Linked DNA regions of Homo sapiens: region 2 is linked to region 1. The links are contacts of gene promoters, found by promoter capture Hi-C in blood cells and fetal thymus (Javierre and others, 2016). All regions are on one chromosome and are shown on one strand. Each heading gives the region's core, a stretch centred on a gene start or on the middle of the fragment in contact. The rest is flanking DNA. Distances are from core to core; before and after follow the strand shown.

Region 1 (6,187 bases), core at 1,561-4,060:
AGCTCTGAGACTCCTGACAGTCAAAGTATAGAGAAACAGGATGGCTTACAAAACAAAAATAATCTAATAAAACCAATCATTAGTTTAAAAAAAAAAAGCTTAATACTGGGGTCTTAGGAAGAATTTGTCTCTAAGGTCTGTATTTTATAGGAACCAATACATAAATTAGAAATTTCTTCATTAGATATTAATGAAGAAAAGATGTTTTTAATGGCCCCTTTGGTAAGTATCAGCTCTAGATAAGATGTATATTAAATCATAGTTCTGTGAAGAAACTTCTACGAGAACCACTTTATAAAGTAACATAATGCGGCTGGGCGCGGTGGCTCATGCCTGTAATCCTAGAACTTCGGGAGGCCGAGGAGGGCGGATTGCGTGAGCTCAGGAGTTCGAGACCAGCCTGGGCAAGACGGTGAAACCACCCGTCTCTACTAAAATACAAAAAATTAGCCGAGTGTGGCCTCATGCCCCTGTAGTCCCAGCTACTCAGGCAGTCTCAGGCAGGAGAACTGCTTGAACCAGGGAGGCAGAGGCTGCAGTAAGCCGAGATCGCGTCACTGCCCAGCCTGGGCAACAGAGCAAGCATCCAAAAAAATAAATAAATAAAATAAAAAATACCATAATGCAAGTATAGTGATTTCAGGTGATACCTTTCTAATTTAGTTTATTCTAGGTTTTCATAAATGTATGTTTTGTTGCCCTACAGGACTGTAAACTCCTCAAGGCTTATGTTGTCTGCTTCCATTTGAACTGCCTTTACTATTTAGTAGAGTGCTTTACAGTTGCTACTCAACTATAATAACTGACAAAATGTTATGCAGTCAATATTTGTAATATTAGCTTTCCCTGCTACACTATAAATTCCATGAGAACAGGGACAGTGAGTTTTGATCGCGACTATATCCCCCCAAGTCTAGAAGATCACTCTGTAAGTATTCGCTGATTGAACGGATTAAATAAAGAAAACAACGAAAAAGTATGAAAGGAGAGAAATAATTTAAATGGCAGTAACTTTGGGTTCTAAGGTTGTTCTCAACAAGAACTGGAAGACCTTAGGTAAGTTACTTAACATTTGATTGTCAATGCTTTCATCTGTAAAATAGAAAAATTAACAGATACTTCAGATTCAAATGTTTTTAATATATGTAAAGCATTTAACACAATACCTGAAAAAAGAACTCAATAAATGTTAATTCCTTTACTTTCTCTTACGTCTCATCTATCCATAAAACAGTGTCTTCCAAGAATATTTCAGTAAAAATACAACAGAACTCATTCTTACTTTCCTTTGAAAAATTAAATTTTCATCTCTTTGATCTTTAAAAAGGAGGGAAAAATAACTTGTGTACTGCTTTCAAAATATTACAAATGCAAAAGCTAGTTAAGACAAAAACAATGTCGAGAATGAGCCTTGCTGGTGGCATCCGCCTGTAGTTCCAGCTAGTAGGGAGGATGCCTTGAGGCCAGGAGTTCCAGATCAGCCCGGGAAACAAAGCAAGACTCCATCTCTTAAGAAAAAAAAAAACAAAACAGGAGGGGGGAAATCACTTCATCTACTAATAGAGATTTTTAAGCAACCGTTTATTTAAGAAAAAAGGGTGAAATTCAAGTTAATATTACTTGACAGTACGTTTCAGAAAAAAAAATACTCTGCAGAGCTGGGTGTGGTTGCCCAAGACTAGTCCCAGCTACTTGGGAAGCTGAGGCAAGAGGACAGTTTGAGCTCAGGAGTTGGAGTACAGCCTGGGCAATATAGCGAGACCCCATCTCTTTAAAATACAAACAAAAACTCGGCAATCGTTTGTTCTGAGTTGAAACCTTAAAAATCAAATATTTTGAACGCTTTCATTTAAAAGTGGAACACGACCCAATCCTAAAACATTACTTCATGACGACTTCCTTGACTCCAGTCATCCTTGTTTCCTCCTCCCGTTTTGAGCTTAATCCGATACCTCGCTGCTTCCCTCGCATCGCACACGCGGCGTGCAGACCAAGTTCTGTCATTGCTATAATTACCACACCCCCGATCAGCCGCTCCAGGCCCATGTTGTTATGACATCGGTAAACTGCAGCCGGCCGTCTCCACCCCCCGCTTCCCCCACCTCCCTCCGGGCCGCCGGCTCCGACCCGGTCTGTAACTTGTGAATTCCCAAGACGGTCCCTTTTTGCCAGGGTTAGAATTTTTACACGCCACCCCTGCTCCTTCCTGCCTCTGTCACAGCGCTCTGCGCGGCCCACCCCCGCCTCCCGCCCGCCGCCCGGCCGCGGCGCAGGCTCCGCGCTCGCCTCCTCTCCGCCCGCTGCCTCGGCGCCCCGCAGTCCCCGGCGCCGCTTACAGCCCCGCCGCCGCGCCACGCCGCCCCGCCCCGCCTAGCCTCGACCGGCGTTCCCGATGGCGATCACACCAGGGCTCCCCACCCCCACCCTCTCCTCCGCCGGCCTTGTGGCCGTTAGGACAGCCGGGCCCGTGACGCACGGACGCGGCGCGAGCGTCCGGCCCAGGAACCCCGGCTCTAGGCCCTGCCGGCACCCGCCCTCGCCCCAGGGCCTCTCCTGAGTCCCTCCGGGACTGCCCGGATCTGCCGGCGGGAGGGGGAGGGGCCGGGGCCGCAAGGCCCCAGCACTCACCAGGCTCAAGGCAACCGATCCCGGTGCCACCGCTGAAGTTAGCCCCTCGCTCGCCCGCCCGCCGTGCCACTCCCGCGCACAACCTCGAAGAGCTGGCCCGCGCCTCGGCGGTGCTCACCAGGCCTCGCTCTCCGCCGCCTCGCACCGAGCAGCGAGACTCAGCTCAGCCGGCGTTCGCAGTGCGCCTGCGTGCGGGGGCCGGCCCGAGCGCCTACGCGCGCCCCTCCGGCGCTTGTCGCAGAGGCTGCCGGGAGACGTAGTCTTGTAACGCTCTCTCGCCGGACATTCCTAATGGTTAGCGCCCAGCCTGTGAAGAGTCGGGGGTCGGGGAGGGGGTCTCGCTAAGAAGGAGGTTTGCAGACCATGGCAAAGGTTGGAGAAAGTTATATGTACAAACCTGTCTTTGCTAAGCTCTTCCAGGGCGGATCGATGCTCACCTCTGTATAGCTTCTAAGTACCTAATACGCGTTGATGGAATGAATGATGGAATGATTGAAGGCTGAGGGAGTATTACAAAATTAGTAGGTCAGCGCCTCGTGTCTAAAGGGCTCACATGCAGCATGAATGCAGGAAGCTTCTGGACATTCCTTTTTTAGTTATCTCCCATCCCCTTTGCTTGATAACGTATGCGTAGTATCAAAAATAATTAAGGGCCGGGCGCGGTGGCTCACACCTGTAATCCCAGCACCTTGGGAGGCCGAGGTGGGTGGATCACTTGAGGCTAGGAGTTTTGAGACTAGCCTGGGCAACATGGCGAAACCCCGTCTCTACTAAAAACACAAAAATTAGCAGGGGGTGGTGACGGGCGCCTGAAGTCCCAGCTACTCGGGAGGCTGAGGTGGGAGAATCACCTGAGCCCGGGGTTGACGGTGAGACTGCAGTGAGCCGAGATCGCGCCACTACACTCCAGCCTGGGCAACCGGAGTGAGACCCTGCCTCAAAAATAATAATAACAATAATAATAATAATAATAATGAAACTACATGAAACACATACTCGTTTTACTCTCAACTGCTCTCAAACGAAAACTTGGAGCAAATGATTGCTAATGTTAAATTTCATGGAATTCTTTGGGGGAGCAAATGGAGTAGTGGCTTCAAAAGAAGAAAAACTGAAGCCAGCCTAGCAGGGATCACGGAATAGTAGACAGATTTAAAACACATGCCAAGAAGCAAGGTGAAAGAGATGAGGTAGATTAATACATTTATAAATGTCCCAGGGAAGAGGAGAGGAGAGAGGACCACTCTACCTGAATCCTAGGTTATGCAATGTTCATTTGTCCTGGACTTCTCTCTGCTGCATCAGCATTCTCCCGCTGATGTTGTGTTTACTAAGATCAGAGTTGAGTTTGAGCAAGGGGGCTGGGGAAAGGGAAGGTGTGTTCAACAGGAGAGACTTAAGGGCAAGTTTGCCTGACCACAGCTAGACTGAAGACAGATCACCTTATTCCAATAAGGAACTAAGACTGATTATTCAGAGCCGGTCTTCAGTCTTTGGGAAAGCTAATTTATTTCCGGTTCACCCTTATTCCTAGCTAGTCCTTGATGGTCCCATCCAAAAGTCTGGGGTATTTACTAGGGCCTCTTCTCTTTGGTGGGCCTTCTAAGCCCCATGAGACAGCCATAAGCTCTTCTCCCTGTTTCAGCCACTGCTTTCAGAGTCAGCAATCACCTTAGCTTTGGAAAAATGATGGCAAATATCAGGCTAACCTCTGGTGGCTTCCTTTTTCTTCCAGACCTTGCACTCACAAATTCTCACTTCCTTGGTAGCTCTTCAGTACATTAACGTTTTTATATTTTGTTCAGTTGTTCTCTGTAGTGGAAAGGTTGATTGAAAACAACAGTAGGCCATTGCTGGAAGTTGAATTCCTATGTATGTTACTTTTACAAAAATGTTATCATACCATACATGGTGTTTTATAAGCTACTGTCTCTCTGACAATATCATTTTATAGTTTGAGAAATTTGAAAGTATAGAACAGTATTTTTTACTGTCACAAACAATGCTGCTGTGAACATTCTTGTACATCTCTACTGTGTATAGGGAAACTGCTAGATCCTAGGACATTGCATCTTTAACCTTACTATATGTATCAGGCAGAAATCTAAGATGGCCCCCATAATCTCTGGTCCCTGGTGTTGCCTATATAATCTCCACCCCTTGAGTGTAGGTGGGACCTTTGACTTACTTCTAGCCAACAGAATATGGCAAAGGTGATAGAATGTCACTCCCATGATTCCGTTTCATTATATAAGACTGTCTTTCCAGACTGGAGCTAGAGATTCGCTGGCCTTGAAGAAGCAAGCTGTCATGTTGCGAACTGCCTATGGAGAAAACTAAATGGCAGGGAACTGCAGACGGCTTCTAGAACTTGAGCGCAGCCTGCAGCTGACAACCAGTAAGAAGCCAGGGCCCTCAGTCACACAACCACAAGGAAATGAATTCTGCCAACAACCTGAGAGGTGGCCTCCAGATGAGAAGACAGCCTGACTTAAACCTTGATAGCAGTTTTGTGAGACCCTGAGCAAAGAAAACAGATAAACTGTGCGTAGACTCCTGGTCTACAGAAACTGTGAGATAATAAATGTGTCTTAAGATACTATGTTTATGGTAATTTATTATACAATAGAAAACTAATACACTAGACATTGCTGGATTATTTCATAAAGTGATTGTACCAATTTGTACTCTAGAAACGGTATATAAGATACTCTTCACTTGCTAACAGTTAGAAATGTCTGGCTTTTTAAATTTTTGCCAATCTAACATATAAATTACTTGAACATAAAAACATGAAAAATAGATATTTACTTAGAATTATGCATTCTGTTGTATTTCTTTTCTGTTGCATAAATGCAATTAAATAAAATAGCAGGCTGGGAACAGTGGCTCATGCCTGTAATCCCAGCACTTTGGGAGGCTGAGGCAGGAGGATCACTTGAACCCAGGAGTTCCAGACCAGCCTGGGCAACATAGCAAGACCCCCATCTCAACACACAAAAAAATTAGTCGGGCATGGTGAGTCGCACCTGTAATCCCAGCTATTCAGGAGACTGAGGTGGGAGGATCACTTGAGACCAGGAGTCTGAGCACACCACTGCACTTCAGCGTGGGTGGCAGAGCAAGATATTGTCTCAAAAAAAAAAAAAAAAAAGCAACTAGTAGTAATAAATAGAGAGACTAATTAAGCAAATAATATGTATGAGAAAAATGCAACAATTTCATAAGGTTTCTTTCTTTCCTCTGGTATAGCAATTTAGCTCTATTGCATATTTGAATTTTGTAGGCTATATCATCCTATATTCTTGAGATAAATAAGTGTAAGAATTTTTTAAAGAATGTATACAATAGAACTAATGAGATAGATATTACCTATATTAAATAAAAAATAATGACATATTTCTTTCTGTCCCATGATAGCTTGAGATATTTTTATTCTTTCTGTTTCCTTTTCCATTAGTACTTTTCTGAACTACTTGGGATCTTTAGGACGTTTTTCTTTTCTTTTGTGTGATAGTAAAACTGAATACAGTCAAACATAAAACTAATTTTGACTTGC
Region 2 (6,003 bases), core at 1,422-3,921, 760 kb before region 1:
TTAGGGCCTGAGCACAGGGGCCCAGCAGGTTCTTTCCGACGTCAGCGGCTGCGTACGGAGGCCGACTTAGGCAGGCCGCTCCAGGAACAAGGCCGTGCGGACAGGACTGACCTAGGCGCTTTTCCCCGTCGCTCCCAGAGGAGAAACGTACCGGGGAGGGGACAGACCGTGAGCAAGTGGTCCAAGTCTGCGCAGGGTGACCCCGAAGGCCCACCGGAGAGGCCGAGGCTTGTGGGCTACTAGAACTAGGCCTGGTAGGTGAAGGAGGCGGGTGAAGGGCCGGATCCAGGACTGAATCCGGGAGAGGCGGGGCGAGGAGGGGACTCCGGTGTAGCTGCTTGGGCAGCTCCCGCGGCCCCTCTGGCGGGGGTGACCGTTATTGGACTCGCAGAGGGAAGAGTTGGGTAGCGTCCCCTACTCACCTAGAAGCGCTGCCGCCTGAGGCTCCAGCTGCCCCCCTCCCAATTCAAGCCACGTCAGCTCGGGAAGCCCGTACGCGACACCTTCCACCGCCGCGCCCCGCCAGGGACTCAGCCACTAGCAGTTGGGACGGAAGATGGGATTAAGACACCGACCAATCAGGACTATCGGCAGGACGTTACCAGGGAGACCAGGCACACCTTGTTTGTTACCAACCTATCAACAATGACGGAAACCAATCAACGACAGAAGATGCTCCGCTTCCTCAAAGAAACAGCCAATGGACCCTAAAGAGTGAATGAGGGGAGTGATTAGACGCGAGTAGGTGCCCCGGAACAAGATCTGGGGAGGGACAGGAAGTGTCGAGTGGGCGGGCGTTCTGGGAAAGGTCAGATGTTCTCAGTGTGAAGTGGTTATGCTGGCTTCCTCCAATTCCTCCTCTTCGTCGGTTGTGACTGACCGAGACAGCGGCTTGGGCTTCGGCAGAGACTTGAGACTGCGGGCACCCGCTGCCATTAGGATTGTTGAATGAGCTGTGAGAAGGGAGTGGGGGATATGGGACTCTTAGATTGAAAAAATACTGGAGCCTCTTAGTTGTTCGTCTAGTTTCACCTTTTGATTTTGTTGATGAAAAATAATTAACCACAGAAGTAACTTGCCCAAAGTCAAACAGCGACTTAGTGATGGAACTCGGACTAGAACCCGGTGTCAGTATGAAAGAGGATCAGCAATGTCTGTAAGGACATGATTGTGAGAGAGAGAGTAGTGAATACTAGGAAGGTGCCTCTTACAAAGTGGAGCCTAAGCCAGGACCTAAGCAAAGATTGAGAGTTGAGGGCTCAGGCTCTGCAATGAGTGTCAGTGAGGAGCTCCAGCAAAAGACTGAAATCACTCATGCTTTCCTTAAACCCCTAAGGAAAGGGAAGGAAAGTAGCCAGTTTCCAATGAGCTGTCATTTCAGGCACTCTCTTGGCAATAAGAGTAATGTTAGTTTGAATTTATTGAATCTTGCTGTGCACTCAGCTGGCCCATTGTATGTATACTCATCTTAATGATTACATAACTTCACAATTCAAACATCAGCTAAGTAAGGCCTTTCCTGGCTGCCCATCTTACGGAACTGGAGGTCATTATTCTAAGTGAAATAAGTCTGGCACAGAAAGACAAATATCCCATGGTCTCACTCATGTGGGAGCTTAAAAAGTTGATCTCATGGAGTAGAGATAAGTACCAGAGGCTGGGAAGGTGGAGTTGGGGGAGGGAGGGAAGAGATTGGTTAATGGGTACAAACGTAGATAGAAGGAATAAGTTCAAGTGTTTGATAGCACAGTAGGGTGACTATAGTTAACAATATGTTATATATTTCAAAATAACTAGGAGATTAGAAATGTTCCAAACACAAAAATGATAAATGTTTGAGGTGATAGATATCCTAAACACCCTGATTTGATCATTACACATTGTATGCATATATCAAACTACCACACCCCATAAATATGTACAAATATGTATCAATACAAACATAAATAAAATTGCAATTTCCTGCATGCACTATATACTTCTTCTTTGCTTCTTTTTCCCCTAAGCATTTTGCCATCTAAAGTACTATATATTTCATTTATCTGGTATCTCTCTTCTCATTAGATTATAAGCTCCAGGAAGGTAGTAATTTTGATCTCAGCTTTATCTCCAGGTCCCAGAAAAGTATAGAGGAGGGCACTCAATATCTGTTAAATTAATAAAGTATATATGATTATCCTTATCTTAAATGTGAGACAATAAGACTTCAGAAGGTTAAATAATTTGCACAAGGTCACATGGTGAGGGGCAGAGACAGAATTTGAATGCTGCAGTACTTAATGAATACATCATATTCTTATATCCCTGATTGTATCCACCCAGCAAAGTCCTAAACCTGCATCAGTCCAACCATTGGTCTCTACTTCTACCTTTGGGGAGCAAAATGCTGCAGGAGACATCAGGACAATGTCATCAGTGACATCAATGTCCTGACCACTGCACATTCAGTTTCCAGCTGAACTCCATCTTCAGCACACTCCCAAATCCTTCTTGTCTTCAGCTTCCTCTCCTATTTGCCACAATTATTCAAACCTTTAACATCCTCTTTAAGTCCCAACCCCGTGTCTACACTTCACACTCCTAGCAGATGAACTTGCTTCTATCTTAGAGAAAATAGAAGCCATCACTGAGAGTCCTATTGTACTCCCTTACACAAAATTTACCTTTCTACATACTTATTTCCACATTCGACCTTAGAATTTACCTTTCAGTTTTAACAGAATGAAAGTTTCTTATGGGAGACGAGATTAGAATTTTTTCTGTCTAGTAGGTCTTCTTATAGCTCTACCTTCTATTATTGGGTGAGCACAGTATGGTGAGAATTATAGTGAACACTAGGGGTGTGAAGGAAGAAAATGAGGTGGAGAAGTTAAAGAGCAAAACATATTATTTCTAAGTTCACTGAAGGACTGGAAATAATTTAGAATGCAACTTAATGGAAGCAATTTAGGCTCTGAGAGGGTGATCAAGATAATAAAAGATAATTAGGGGTTGCCCCAGCAAAAAAGAGGGTACAGAATAGTGGAGGTAGATGGAGCAGCATGTGCATGGACCATTTGGGCAATTTGACATAAGTGATATGACTGAATGGTTAGGCAAAGAGTAGGTCATAAAATTGTGCCATTTTATGCTAAGGGGTTTGGATATGACTCTAAGCTCCAGAGCAGTTAGAGACTGCAGAAATCACAGAAGTGTGGAGTCATTCAGGTGTCCCTTAGAGAGTGATCATTTCCCTAATTGAAAGTACAGGGAGGAAAAGTTGAAAGACAAGAAATGTCACATTCTCTGTGATTTACTGTTGCCCAATTCCCTCTCCCCTTTTTCAGTTCTTTCCTCATCATCATCTTACCTTCCTCTATACCAAATGCAAACTTATTCCAAAACTTTCATGCAGCCTTATTTATTAATGTATCTTCCATACCTAACGTATCTTCAGCATAGTATATACTCAATAAATATTTGTTAAATAAAATATCCAACATAGAATTCTATATGAATAAATCTTAAAATCTTGGAGAAATAAGAAATTGTCTTGAAAAATATAACTTTGAGACATATCAATTATATGCAAAAATATACAATCACATGATCACATCAACCAATGAAGAAAAATATTTTCACAAGAAGAGGGAAGGTGGGGAAAGAAGAAGAGGGATGGTGGGGAAAGAGGAAGGGAGATGAGGGGGGAAAAAGAAGAAGGAAGGAGAGGAAAGAAAGGGGAAAGGAAGACGGAAGGTGGGGAAAGAAAAAGAGGGATGGTGGGGAAAGGGGAAAGAAGAGGGATGGTAGGGAAAGGGGAAAGAAGAAGAGGGATGGCAGGGGAAGAAGAAGAGGGAAGGTGGGGGAAGAAGAGAGGGAAGGTGGGGATAGGGAAAAGAAGCTGAGGAAAGAAGGTGGGGAAAGAAGAAGAGGGAAGGTGGGGGAAGAAGAAAAATCAACACCCATTCATGATTAAAAAAAAAAACTCAGAAAACTAGGAATCGAAGGATATTTACTCAACTTGATAGAAAAATATTGCAGATTCTTAATGGTGAGAAACTGGATGCTTTCCCTCTAAGATCAGGAACAAGGTAAGGATGTCCCCTGTCACTACTCCTAGGTGACATTATACTAAACCTCCTGCCTAATGTAAGACAATAAAGGGAAATAAAAGATATTCATACTAGCAAGTAATAAATAAAACTGTCTTTGTAGATGGCATGATTTTTTATGTAAAAAATATCTAAGAATAAACAAAAACCTCCTGGAATTAATAAGCAATTTTAACGAGGCTACAGGGTAAAAGGTCAATTGCTTTCCTCAGCAAAGAACAATTGGAATTTGAAATTAAAAACACAATACCATTTACATTAGCCTCAAAAAAAAAAGACGAAATAAATACTTAGGCATAAATCTAACAAAATATGTACAGGCTCTATGTGAAGGAAACTAGCAAACCTCTGATTAAAAAAATTAAAATCTAAATAAATTGAGAAATATTCCATATTCCCAGAAAGCATCAGTATTGTTACGATGTCAATTCTTCCCAACTTTATCTGTAGATTCAATAAGATCTCAATCAAAATCTTAGCACATTATTTTGTGGATATCAACAAATTAATTCTGAATTTTATATGAAAAAGTAAAAGACCCAGAATAATCCACAGACTATTCAAGAAGAACAAAGTTGGAGGACTGACGTTACCCAACTTCAAGACTTACTACACAGCTACAGTAAACAAGACAGCATGGTATTGGCTAAAGAATAGACAAATAGACCAATGGAACAGAATGGACAGCCCCAAAATAGATCCACATAAATGTAGACAACTGATCTTTGAGAATGGAGCAAAGGCAATTCAATGGAGAAAAGAGTCTTTTCAATACATGGTGCTAGAACAACTGGAAATCCACATGCAAAAAATGACACACACCTTATACCTTTTATACAAATTAACTCAAAGTGGATCTTAAGATGTAAATATAAAATGTAAAAATATAAAACATCTATAGGATAATTTGAGACTCTAGGTGACTTTGAGTTTGGTGATGACTTTTCAGATACAACACCAAAAGCATGAGCCAATGCGGGGGGGAGAACACAATAAGTTGGACTTGATTAAAATGAAAAACTTCTGCTCTGCAAAAGGCACCGTTAAGAAGATTAAAAAAACAAGGCACAGACTGGGAGAAAATATTTGTAGAATACCTATTTGATAAAGGACTGTTACCTAAAATACACAAGGAACTCTTATAATGCAAAAATTTTAATTAAAAAAATTCACAAGTGGGCAAAAGATCTGAACAGACACCTCACCAAAGAAGATACACAGATGGCAAATAAGCACACAAAAAAATGCAGCCGGGCACGATAGCTCATGCCTGTAATCCCAGCACTTTAGGAGGCCGAGGCAGGCAGATCACAAGGTCAGAAGTTTAAGACCAGCCTAACCAACATGATGAAACCCCCGTGTCTACTTAAAAAAATACAAAAATTAACCAGGCGTGGTGGCGCGCGCCAGTAATCCCAGCTACTCAGGAGGCTGAGGCAGGAGCATCGCTTGAACCCGGGAGGTGGAGGTTGCAATGAGCTGAGATTGCGCCACTGCACTCCAGCCTGGGGGACACAGGGAGACTCCGTGTCAGAAAGAAAGAGAGAAAGAGAGAGAGAGAGAGAGGAAAGAAAGAGAAAGAAAGAAAGAAAGAAAGAAAGAAAGAAAGAAAGAAAGAAAGAAGGAAGGAAGGAAGGAAGGAAGGAAGGAAGGAAGGAAGGAAGGAAGGAAAGAAAGAGAGAGAAAGAAAGAGAAAGAGAGAGGGAGGGAGGGGAAGAAAGAAAGAAAGAGGAAGAAAGATAAATGAAGGAAGGAAGAAGGGAGGGAGGGAGGGGAAAGAAAAGGAAAGGAAAGGAAGTCAACATCATATGTTACTAGGGAATTGCAAATTAAAGGAACAATAAGATACCACCACACACCTATTTGAATCACAAAAATCCAAAACCTGGACATCATCAACTGCTGGCAAGCA

What was found. The method cuts DNA at HindIII sites, captures the fragments that hold promoters and counts their contacts. A CHiCAGO score of 5 or more calls a contact.
Region 2: a contact is called between a fragment that was not itself captured here and the fragment with the promoter of KPNA1 in region 1, in 1 of 17 cell types (total CD8 T cells). The highest score is 6.3, in total CD8 T cells.

The regions. Positions count from the first base shown.
Region 1 is chr3:122,512,129-122,518,315 of GRCh38, forward strand. It overlaps KPNA1 (karyopherin subunit alpha 1), which reads right to left and starts at 2,811. Exons shown (of 14, transcript NM_002264.4): 1 at 2,629-2,811. It overlaps LOC107984000 (a long non-coding RNA gene), which reads left to right and starts at 2,901. Exons shown (of 2, transcript XR_924403.3): 1 at 2,901-3,000; 2 at 4,897-5,230. RefSeq lists a silencer at 2,089-2,778. The HindIII fragment of the contact is 3,104 bases long and covers 97-3,200 here.
Region 2 is chr3:121,749,210-121,755,212 of GRCh38, forward strand. GOLGB1 (golgin B1) reads right to left here and starts at 532. Exons shown (of 22, transcript NM_001366282.2): 1 at 423-532. RefSeq lists enhancers at 190-239, 260-499. The HindIII fragment of the contact is 9,962 bases long and covers 1-6,003 here.